Linked DNA regions of Homo sapiens: regions 1 and 3 are each linked to region 2. Evidence: promoter capture Hi-C in 16 types of primary human blood cells and fetal thymus (Javierre and others, 2016). All regions are on one chromosome and are shown on one strand. Each heading gives the region's core, a stretch centred on a gene start or on the middle of the fragment in contact. The rest is flanking DNA. Distances are from core to core; before and after follow the strand shown.

Region 1 (3,094 bases), core at 60-2,559, 89 kb before region 2:
GCTTGGTTTTCTTCCTGTTCATTTTCAGACTCCTTTGCAAGGTCCTCTTCCTCTGATTATCTTGTACATTTGGTGTTTCTGGGGCTCTCTCTTTGGCTGTCTTCTCTTTTCATTCTACATATGTTCCTCAGAAATCTCATCTCTGGCTTCCGTTTTCACTTACATACTGATGACCCACAAGTCTTTATATACAACCCAGTCCTGTCTTCTTTCCCTTGAGTTCTTGGTGCGCTGGCTGTCCCCCCGTGAATATCCCACAGATATCTGAACCTCAACCTGAACTTAGTGTCCATTTCCCCCATCCTCTTATGCTGGCTCAATAATAAATCATGCCTTCCTCCAGCCCATTTCCCAAGCTGCAAACCTTGGAGTCATCCTTGATTTCTACCTCTTCATCTCCACTCCCAGCAAATCGCCAATTCTTTAACATGTCTTGAATCTGGACCCCTACCAACCGTTCCCTGCACTCTCAGAACACCCTCCAACCCCCAAGTGGCTCCCCTGCTTCCCTCTTCCCTACCACTGATTACTTCCACTCTGTAGTCACTGTGATTTACAAAAGGTGAAATCGGAGCTGCCTCTCCTCAGTGCCTCCCCATTCCTACAGGATGACGTCCAAACTCTTTGACAAGGTCAACAGGGTCCACCACAATTCGACAGCTGCTTTGATCTTCAGAAACTACATCCTGTTGTAAGTCCCAGGACCCACCACGCTCTCTCCTATCTCTGGACGTTTGCCACGTGCTTCCTGGCTGTCCTTCCCAACTCACTTCTCTATCACTTCTCCTCTCTGCCCACCCCTGGATACTCCCTATTGATGCCTTAGTGCTCAGTTTACACATCATTTCCTTGAGGAAGGCTTCCTTGAAGACTGTCCCTTCCCCCACATCACCCCAAATCCTGAGCCGGCAGCTCCTTCTGGTTCCCATGGCACCCCGCACTCTTTGGTATGGCGACATTCCTGGACTACATTGAAAGGCCTGTGGCCTGCTTCCTTGCCTGTCTCCTCCACTGGTGTGAAAGCCCCTTGAAGAGCTGCTGCATTCATCATTGTATCCTGAGGCAGAGGCAGAGGCAGCCTGTCCACCCTCTCATGTTTCCGATGCACCCAAGCACCATCCAGCCCCGGGTCAGCACATCCACAGAGAGCAGGCAGGGTGGTGGGAGCAGCAAGTGGTGAGGCCTGTGATGCCATAATCAATTTTGCTGGGCTTAGCGTAGTTACTGAAAAGCTTGTGGAGGGAAGAGAACACACCTATTGACTCAAAGGAGGTTTGGGGATTTTCTGTGGTTTGCAACGATCCATTTGCTCGTTACTAGCTGAGATCTGGAATTGGCAGTACTGACATAATGGCTTATGTCCGTGGACTTACTGCACATGGAGAAAGAAGCTTCGGAGTCTGGGGGAAGAATGCATTTCGCCTTTCCAAGCTTCCCTTGTCCTTGCCTCATCTCTTGAGCGGTGCCAGATGACAAGGGCCTCTGTCACTGTGATGCAGTTTACTTCCTATCTCCCTCTCTAGCAGAGGTCTGCTCTTGGAGAACGGACTATGTGTATTTTGTTCACAATGTACCTCCACTGCCCATCCAGGGCTTTGGCTTGCACCAGGTGCCCAGTAAATGTCTGGAGAATAAATGAATTGAATGAAGGTATTCGCAGCCATATGTCCACTACAGCCTATAAGGCTGCATCTGATTTGGTTGGGAGGGCAAGTGTGTGTACAAGGTTTGTAGTGATTGGCAGGAATCTCACAGATAAGACTAGTGAACAAACTGCACAAACTACTGCCCAGTGGTTGGATTTCCTGTATCTCATGGGTACCACACCTGCAGGGCCCTTCTTGGTTTAGTCTGTGATGACTGCTACGCTCAACTGCCGCTTTCCACAATCTGACTGCTCAGCCACACTGGATTCCTGATTTCTCTTTCCATACAACAAGCAGACTTCCCCTCTGGGCCTCTTGCACCATGGCTCCCCTGTCTAGAATGCTCTTGTTTTGCATCCGCATGATGGGCTCCTCACTTATTCAGGACAAAAATGATATGACCATCATTCTCTGTTCCCCCAGCTGGGTTAATTTTCTTCTTATCACGTACCCTGCATTCATCTTACCACTATCACATTTTTATTTATTTTTATGTTTACTGTTAGTCCCATTAGAATGGACGATCCACGAGGGCGGGGCTTTGCTCTGCTCACTGTTGCAGCACCAGAGTATAGACCCATGACTGGCATGTAGCAGGTGCTCAGTAAATATTTGTGGAACAGTCTGATTTAGCTTTCTGCTTTCCAAAGAAATAATGTCACAATAGTGTTAGTTAAAAAAAATAGTGTTAGTTAAAAAAATTGTGTTAGTTAAAAAAAGAAAGAACTCACAGATGTACTGCATGTCAAGGTATGAAAGTGTGTCTATGTTCAAACATTCTCTTATTTATTCCTCACATAATATTATTCAACCACACACGTGGTAGATGGAGTGTTTATCTCTCCTATTTTTCAAATCCAGAGCTCAGAAAAGTAAAATCATTTGCCCCAAAGACCCTCAACTCAGAAACTTATGTCATCTGACTCCAGATCTCGTGTCCCTTGAGTGACAATGTCCTTGAATTACTTAACCTCTTGTTGCCCTGGTGTCCTCATCTGTGATATGGAGATAAGAAAAGAATAATCCTCCTAGTGTTGTGTGAAGGTCAAATGAGTTAATTTGGTGTGATGCTTAGAGAAGTGCCTGATACATACTAAGAACTCTGTAAATGTTACTTATTATTGTTGAGTTATTTTAATATTGAATTATTATTAAAATTCTCCCTTGTTAGAATTCTATCCTTGAATTTCTGATGCATTTTTCATGCAGCTGCATTTTAGATAAGACATATTAAATACCTGTCTTTCACTACTGGGATTTATCTTGGTAAGGCTGCACGCCATAGTCTAGCGCCTTACGATTCACCGGATTTTCCTGTCTCCAATTGTTCCCATTCACCTGTCTCCCCAGCGAGAGTGTAAGTTCCTGGAAACTAGAGAGTATTGCTGATAGAGGTCTGGACAAAGTGTGACTGTTTTCCTTTTTCATTGAGATCTGTAATCCATCTG
Region 2 (3,521 bases), core at 984-3,483:
CTCAACCTCCCCATGCCCTCCCCTCCCTCCCTCCCTGCCTGCCTGCACAATGTCTGATTCTCAAGCCGGCTGCAATGCTGACTCTACTAGCTTCTGGCTGACAGACATGTCACTCTGTGGAAGCCTAACCCGCAAGTGAATTGCTGTTTATTAGAACTTAGGCTTGTTTCCTGTGAGAGACGTATGTATTTTTAGACTTTGTAAACGTTAAAATACACAAATACACACACGCAGCCAGCCACCTCGAGTGATATGTGTGGCTCATAGACATTACGAAATGCTCTTGAACTCAGCTTGAGATCCTGGAATAATTAGGATTTACCAAATAAGGATTCTTAGAAACAACATATTCTTTTTTAAATAAGGAGATTTGCAGATGGTGGTGTGTCTAGGACTTTTGGGGAGTAAGGAGAAGAGGAGGGAAAAGGGAAGAGCATTTTTGAATTCTTCATTGCGAAAAGAGAAACAGCATACACAGAAGCAATTATTTTACCCTCTCATAGATGGCAATGCTAAATCGGATGGTAAATCCTAATGACTCCAAAGCAGGCAGAACACCTTTGACTTTTAGAGACAATCTCTTGTCGTTTTCACCATGTCATAGATTATTCCAATGAGGATGTTTGAGGGGATGAGGGGGTGGCGGAGGCGAGGGAGTAGAGTATGGGTTTTGCTTATTGATTTTCTTTCCTCTGAAACTAACCCAACCAACCTTGATTGGTGGTGGAAGGAGTGAACTAAGAAAATGGTGGAATGTAAAGGGGACTTATTTGGAGGAGGGTGGGGAGGGGGGAGTGAAAGGGGAGGGGTGGGGTGGAGAGGGGGGAGGAGATGGGAAGTCAAGTACCTTCTAGGCAGCAGGTTCTCCATAATCCGGAATGGGTCATAACTTCCTCGTTCTTTTTGCTGGTTTCATTCTCACTGACACTTTTGGTCTTGCAAACCCCTCTGGAGTAGAGCCAATAGTCGGTTCCCACAGCTATGGTCATCAGGCTGAAGGCAGCGAAAGCACCAACGGTGGTTAAAAGCATTTGAACACCTCGATCAAACAGCCCCATAATTCTTCATTATATAAACACCCAACCGACTTCTGGTTCTCGGGAGAGTGTGTGTGAGGGTGCAAGTACTAAAGCCAAAAAAAATAAATAAAAATAAAAATTATTCCACTACTAATATAATGGATATATGTATGAATAGAGAATATGGAGAGTTATAAAAAAAGGGAGGTAAGAAAGCTCACGGAAAAGAGTGTAAATTATAAAGATCACACGGGAAGAGGCTTGCCTTTTGAGATCAGAAACTGTTCCAGTTGCAGTGTTTTTTTTTTAAAAAGAAAAGGAAAAAAAAAATAAAAAGACACCCCCCACCCCCCCAAGTGAGATGCCTTAATCTCTTTTTCTAAAATTCTGGTCTCCAGTTTCCATATGTGATAGTTAATTTGGAGATGGCTTCCACAGTGAACCAGGGAACAGCCGAATTCTCAACACCATTTCTCATGGTCGGGACCTAGACAGTTAGAGACTGTGAGAGCCGAGATGCAACCTTCGGTCTTCGTTCTCGGCTCTGCGGCCTGCGCCATGAAAATCCTTTGCTTCGCCAGTTCTCTTCCTTGGGGGGTCTCGGCGCTTTCGTTTCAGACCAGACTTCCCAGTATTCTGTAAGCCCTTGAGCTCAGCTGCACAGGTGCGGGGGTCTCGCTTTCCATGGTTTTGCCCGGGCAGCGGCGGCGGCGGCGGCGGCGGCGGCAGGGCGGGCAGGCGCGGCGGCGGCGGCGGCAGCAGGACGAGCAGCGGCGGCGGTTATTGTTGTTGGTGGCGGGGGTAGTGTTGGCGAAGTGGGGGAGAGAGGGGGTTTCTCCTGGAGAATCGAGGCGGATTTCCCTCCCCCTATCTGCAAAGCTCCTGGAAACGAGGGAGCCGGCGTCTTGCTGCAGGGTGGGCCGCGCGCCTGCCCCCCACTCGCTACCGGCTGGGCGCCCGCGGAGGCGCTCCCACCTACTGCATTACGGGTGGTGCTGAACCGGACAGCTCCCTGCGCCGCCCGCTCCGCGCGCTCCCCGGCTGGCTCCCAGGGCCGCCCGCCAGGAGGGGGGCGCTGGCCAGAGTCCTCCCTCCCCGGGGCAGCAAGGCCAGCGCAGAGCGGGGGCCGCCTTTCCTCTTTTTACCCCTCTCCCAAATCCTAAAATGAGCGCTCTCCTGGGCTCCCGGAGCTTAGAGGAAGGCGTAGCTAGAGATAGCTCGCGCTCTCTCTCTCTCTCTCTCTCTCTCTCTCTCTCTCTCTCTTTCTCTCTCTCTCTCTCTCTCTCTCTCCCCCCTTCCCTCCCCCCTTGGTGTTTCTTCCAGCTCAGCCTCCTTCTCATTCCATCTCTACGTGCCCAGAGCTTCAAATACAACCCTCCCATCACAGTCAGACGGGCACAAAACTTCAACCAGCCGTTTCTCTGCCTGGAAGCGGCGAACATGTAACCTGGACGGGTAATTACAAACACGTCTTTATGTGTTTTTTAAATCATTGTTTTCACTTTGCTTTGCTGGGGATTTGTTTTATTTTGTTGGTCCGTTAGATGTATCTTCTTTCGGTTTTCCTCTCTCTTCTCTTTGTCTCTCTCTGGCTTACCAGGGGGTGTGCATTGCTCTGTGTCTCTCTGTAGTTTTCCGTGAAATTCCAAATCTTGCTTCTACAAGCAGACATTTTGGGAAGATTATTCGTGGAAAAGGGTGCAAAAGGGCGACTCGTAGCTGGGGCTTGGGCAATGATTTTCATTGCAAGGATAAACATGTTCTCAGGGGAAGTGGGTGAAATGTGAATCCTTCTAAGTATCCTATGTCATTCATAAACTGGTTGGGAAGAGATAAAAAATCTTCCTTCCATGAACACTGGAACACCGAAACCCTCCCCTCTTTCTCAGAAGAATCATTGTTTGTGGGTTAATTACAGTGTCACCTTTCATTTCTCTTATGTGCAACTTTTCCTTAACGTGACCTCTGGTAGAAAGAAGCACATTAATTCCTGCTGCTACGGATTACATTTTTTTCTCTGATCACTTTTATGGTTAAGTGAGTAAGAGCACATGAGGCATGAGATGGGTTCATGTTTTTGATATTTTGTGTGTGTGTGTGTTGCGGGGGGGACCCTGGAGAGGATGTGAGTATGATGAGTCTATTGAGGCAGGGGGAGTTGAGAGGTTTCAATCCCATAATTCAATTATTCAGTACTTTCTTCTCTCTCCCTCTACTTTTTTTCTTGAGATTATTTGCTTGACATCTTTCTCAGTGGTCTGGTGATTATCAGAGGTATATAAAAGATGAGTGAATTAAAAACAGTCTTTCTTTGGTGTAAAGTCCATTGCCTAACTTCCTTCGCTCAGGTCAGAGTTGGTCTGCAGGTATGACCAGTGTATTTTTTTTGACATAGAAAAACTACCTGTTTCTTCGCCCAGCACAAAACTTCCTTTCTCCCACTCTGTTCTTTTCTTAGAAGGGAAAGGCTCCCATGAGGGGCAATTGCTGTGCTTCTGGTAT
Region 3 (3,315 bases), core at 274-2,773, 120 kb before region 2:
AGGACTTCCTGGAGAAGGTGATGTTTTAGCTGAGACCTGGAGGTCGACTGAGTAGGAGTTTGCCAGACAAAGACGGGCAGGGAAGGGCATTGCAGGCAGAGGGAACAGCACATATGAAGGTCTGTACTCCGGAAAGGAGAGAGGCTTAGCTTTTTCCTGCCCTCTGCTGTGATGAGGGCCTCTAGGTAGGCCTGGTCCTTGACTCTGTGAAGGATGGAAGGGCAGGGCCCACCACCAGGAGGGAGATAAAAACAATCGTGTGCACTCACGGAGGAAATATTCTGCTGTGTCAGCTTCGTAATCTGCATCCTCTGGGAAGTGATCAATTTGCTTGCACAGACCTTTGAAATTCCCTGCAAAACAAGGGGAGAAGGAGCACATGAAACATCATAGTTTTGGGGGCGCTTAGGGCCCACCTGCCTCTTCCCAACTTCTGGCTCTTTGGAAACTCACTCAGCCCTCTCCCTCACCCCTGAAGGAAGGTTTCGCTTTGTCCGTTTGGACATCTGCCTGGTGAATCACAACACACACACCCGCAGTACTGCAGAGAGGATCTAAAGCCGACGACTTCAAAACGCTGCCTTCTGTCCCTGCACTGAAGCTTCTGAGGATTAGCGGAGGCTTGGCAGCAGTGGAGGTTTGATTCCGAGCTGGGGACTGCCACGCAGGAGGCCGATGAATGCTCCTCAGCCCGTCTCTGTGCCCCAGCATAGCTGGGAGTCATCCTGCATTTTACATGTGAGAAAGTAGCAGATCACTTTCTAAAGGGGACACACCCCGCACTGGTGCTGCCAGATGCTGCCACAGCCCTTTAGAAGAGCCTGCAAAACACTTTCCCATCTGCAATTCCGCACGGAATTCACCAAACCCAGCCGCCAACTGCTCTGAAATAAATATGGGGGTGGGGAGGAAGTTGAGCCCCCTGGGGGCTGGACTTTTGGGTTTTGAACTACAGCTCATTTTGGTTCCACCACAGGCCTGTGAGGGGGGTATTATCATCCTCATTGTATAGATGAGGAAACTGAGGCTCAGAAAGGCTGAACTATCTGAGCAAGTGCTTGTGGCTAGGAAATGACGGAATCAGGGCTGAAACTAGGATCTTTTGACTCTAAATGTTTCCTCGGTGCCTGCTGGGAAGGTGAGAACTGGCCTGGGGCAAATCCCAGCACAGTGTCACAGGCAGGTCCTCCCCAGTGTTCACTGATGAGCACGTGAACTCTTGAATGTGGCCTTTCTAAAAACCGATAAGTAGCACAGACTCTACAATCACCAGAGCATCGGCTTCCTGACAGCAGAGACTTTGTTTCATTCACTGTCTTATCTCCAGCACCAGCATAGGCACAGTGAATGTCCTTTAACCTTCTCTGAATGGAAGAAAGATTGGGTGTATGCTGGGGCGTATGCACAGTGGGTAAGATGCAGGTTGCACAGCCAGACTGCCTGGGTCCAGCTGTGCATCACTCAGTGTCCTCACCTGAGAGTGGCGATAACAAGAATTCTTCCCTGGCAGATTGTCGTGGAGGTTCACTGAGCTGATGCATGTTGAGTAGTCAGAACAGTGCCTGACACATTTAGGAAGTCCTTGGGGGCATTGACGTGAGACAGAAATGAAATTTGACTGTGTCCAGCCACCAACATAGTAGCTACTGTGACCTAATTAATACAGCCCTCAATACATGTTGGCAATGATTTTCTTCTACAGTCCTGAGACTATGTCTTATAAAATAGGGGCAGATTCTAGTATGTGTCATAGATATTAATTAGGAATTTTACGGTATTATTACATATACCTTTTTTTTTTTTTTTTCCCCCTGAAATGGAGTCTCACTCTGTCACCCAGGCTTGAGTGCAGTGGTGTGATCTCGGCTCACGGCAACCTCCAACTCCCAAGTTCAAGTGATTCTCCTGCGTCAGCCTCCTGAGTAGCTGGGATTACAGGCACATACCAACATGCCCAGCTAATTTTTGTATTTTAGTAGAGATGGGGTTTCACCATGTTGGCCAGGCTGGTCCCCCACTCCTGACTTCAAGTGATCTGCCTGCCTTGGCCTCCCAAAGTGCTGGGATTACAGGCATAATCCACTGTGCCCAGCCTAGACATATATATATATATGTGTGTGTGTGTATAAAATAGACCTATATATTAGGTTGGTGCAAAAGCAACTGTGGTTTTTGCCATCAAAAGTAATAGTGAAACCGTAATTACTTTTGCATCAACCTAATAGTACACAGGTATATAGTATACAGGGATACTTACGTACTACGTAGGAATATAAGCATTTTAGGAACTTCTGGCTATGATTATATGCTGCATATAATGGAAAAGAGGAATCTCTGTAACTCCCTTTCACACATGAGCTATCCCTGTACCAAATTCACTAACTTTCTTGAGTTCTACAAGAAAAACAATTCCCCAGACCATATCGGGACTTCTGGTCGCTTCACTGAAGCTTGGTAGGGCCACTCAAAATGGTCCCATGGACAGGTGTCTTCTCTGAGTGTTTTGGGTTCCCTGCTTTTTGCTGTCCCCACCCCCATCGTGTCATGGCCCCTCTGCCCTCCTGCATCTTGGGGTGTTAAAAGGAAGCCTTGTCCCCTCCCTAGTACCTTGTTTTCCTAATCCAACCATGCACCCTTCTCTGTGGGAAAAGTCTTCATACCAGCTGCTAAGAGGATAACAAATTCTCCCTATTGTTAAAATTACAAATCAGTGTATTTGAAAAGCACTTCGCAAAGCACTCTCATTTTCTTTCAATTCAATCTGACAAATATTTCAGCAAGCCGGTGCCAGGCATCTTTATAAAGAATCTGTGCAGGAGTGAGGCTCAGAGAGCAGTACTGACATGCCCTGAGGCGTCCCACAAATTGAGGACAGAGCTTCACCCAGCAGGGCCCCAGCTGCATCCTGGTGGGCCACACCCGCTCCTGTTCCCCGCAGGAACAGGAGCTCACATTCTACGGGGAGCCTAGTTGCTCCTTGTGTGCAAGCCTGGGCTTCACTCATCCTTGGACCATTGGCTCCTAGCGCAGTGCCTGGCACAGAAGCAGGGTTCAGGAGATGCTAACAGAGAGGCCGTGCGAGATAATCAGTGGCCCAGACCTCTCCTTGAGGCCTGGACCTGGGTATCCAGCTGCCTATTTGACATCTCCTGGTGGATGTTTTAAAGGCACTGAACATGAACTCCTGATCTTTCCCTCTAGCCTGGCACTCTGGAGGCCCCAGTTAGCTTGGCGAATGCTTCTCCAGGGTTCCCTTGTGTAAGCCTGAGCCTAGTTGTCAGCGCTGACATCTATCTCTTCCTCCTCCCTGCAGGC

The links. The method cuts DNA at HindIII sites, captures the fragments that hold promoters and counts their contacts. A CHiCAGO score of 5 or more calls a contact.
Region 1: a contact is called between a fragment that was not itself captured here and the fragment with the promoter of CACNG2 in region 2, in 2 of 17 cell types (M1 macrophages and endothelial precursors). The highest score is 6.9, in M1 macrophages.
Region 3: a fragment that was not itself captured here is called in contact with the fragment with the promoter of CACNG2 in region 2 in 1 of 17 cell types (endothelial precursors); the score reaches 5.2 in endothelial precursors.

The regions. Positions count from the first base shown.
Region 1 is chr22:36,613,508-36,616,601 of GRCh38, forward strand. The region is part of intron 1 of CACNG2 (calcium voltage-gated channel auxiliary subunit gamma 2); the gene reads right to left. Among named protein-coding and RNA genes, the nearest start is that of EIF3D, 86 kb to the left of the region's middle. The HindIII fragment of the contact is 159 bases long and covers 1,231-1,389 here.
Region 2 is chr22:36,701,519-36,705,039 of GRCh38, forward strand. It overlaps CACNG2 (calcium voltage-gated channel auxiliary subunit gamma 2), which reads right to left and starts at 2,234. Exons shown (of 4, transcript NM_006078.5): 1 at 848-2,234. The coding sequence starts at 1,058. CACNG2-DT (CACNG2 divergent transcript) reads left to right here and starts at 2,358. Exons shown (of 4, transcript NR_134623.1): 1 at 2,358-2,474. The HindIII fragment of the contact is 12,752 bases long and covers 1-3,521 here.
Region 3 is chr22:36,587,196-36,590,510 of GRCh38, forward strand. It overlaps CACNG2 (calcium voltage-gated channel auxiliary subunit gamma 2), which reads right to left. Exons shown (of 4, transcript NM_006078.5): 2 at 270-353. Among named protein-coding and RNA genes, the nearest start is that of EIF3D, 60 kb to the left of the region's middle. The HindIII fragment of the contact is 1,849 bases long and covers 600-2,448 here.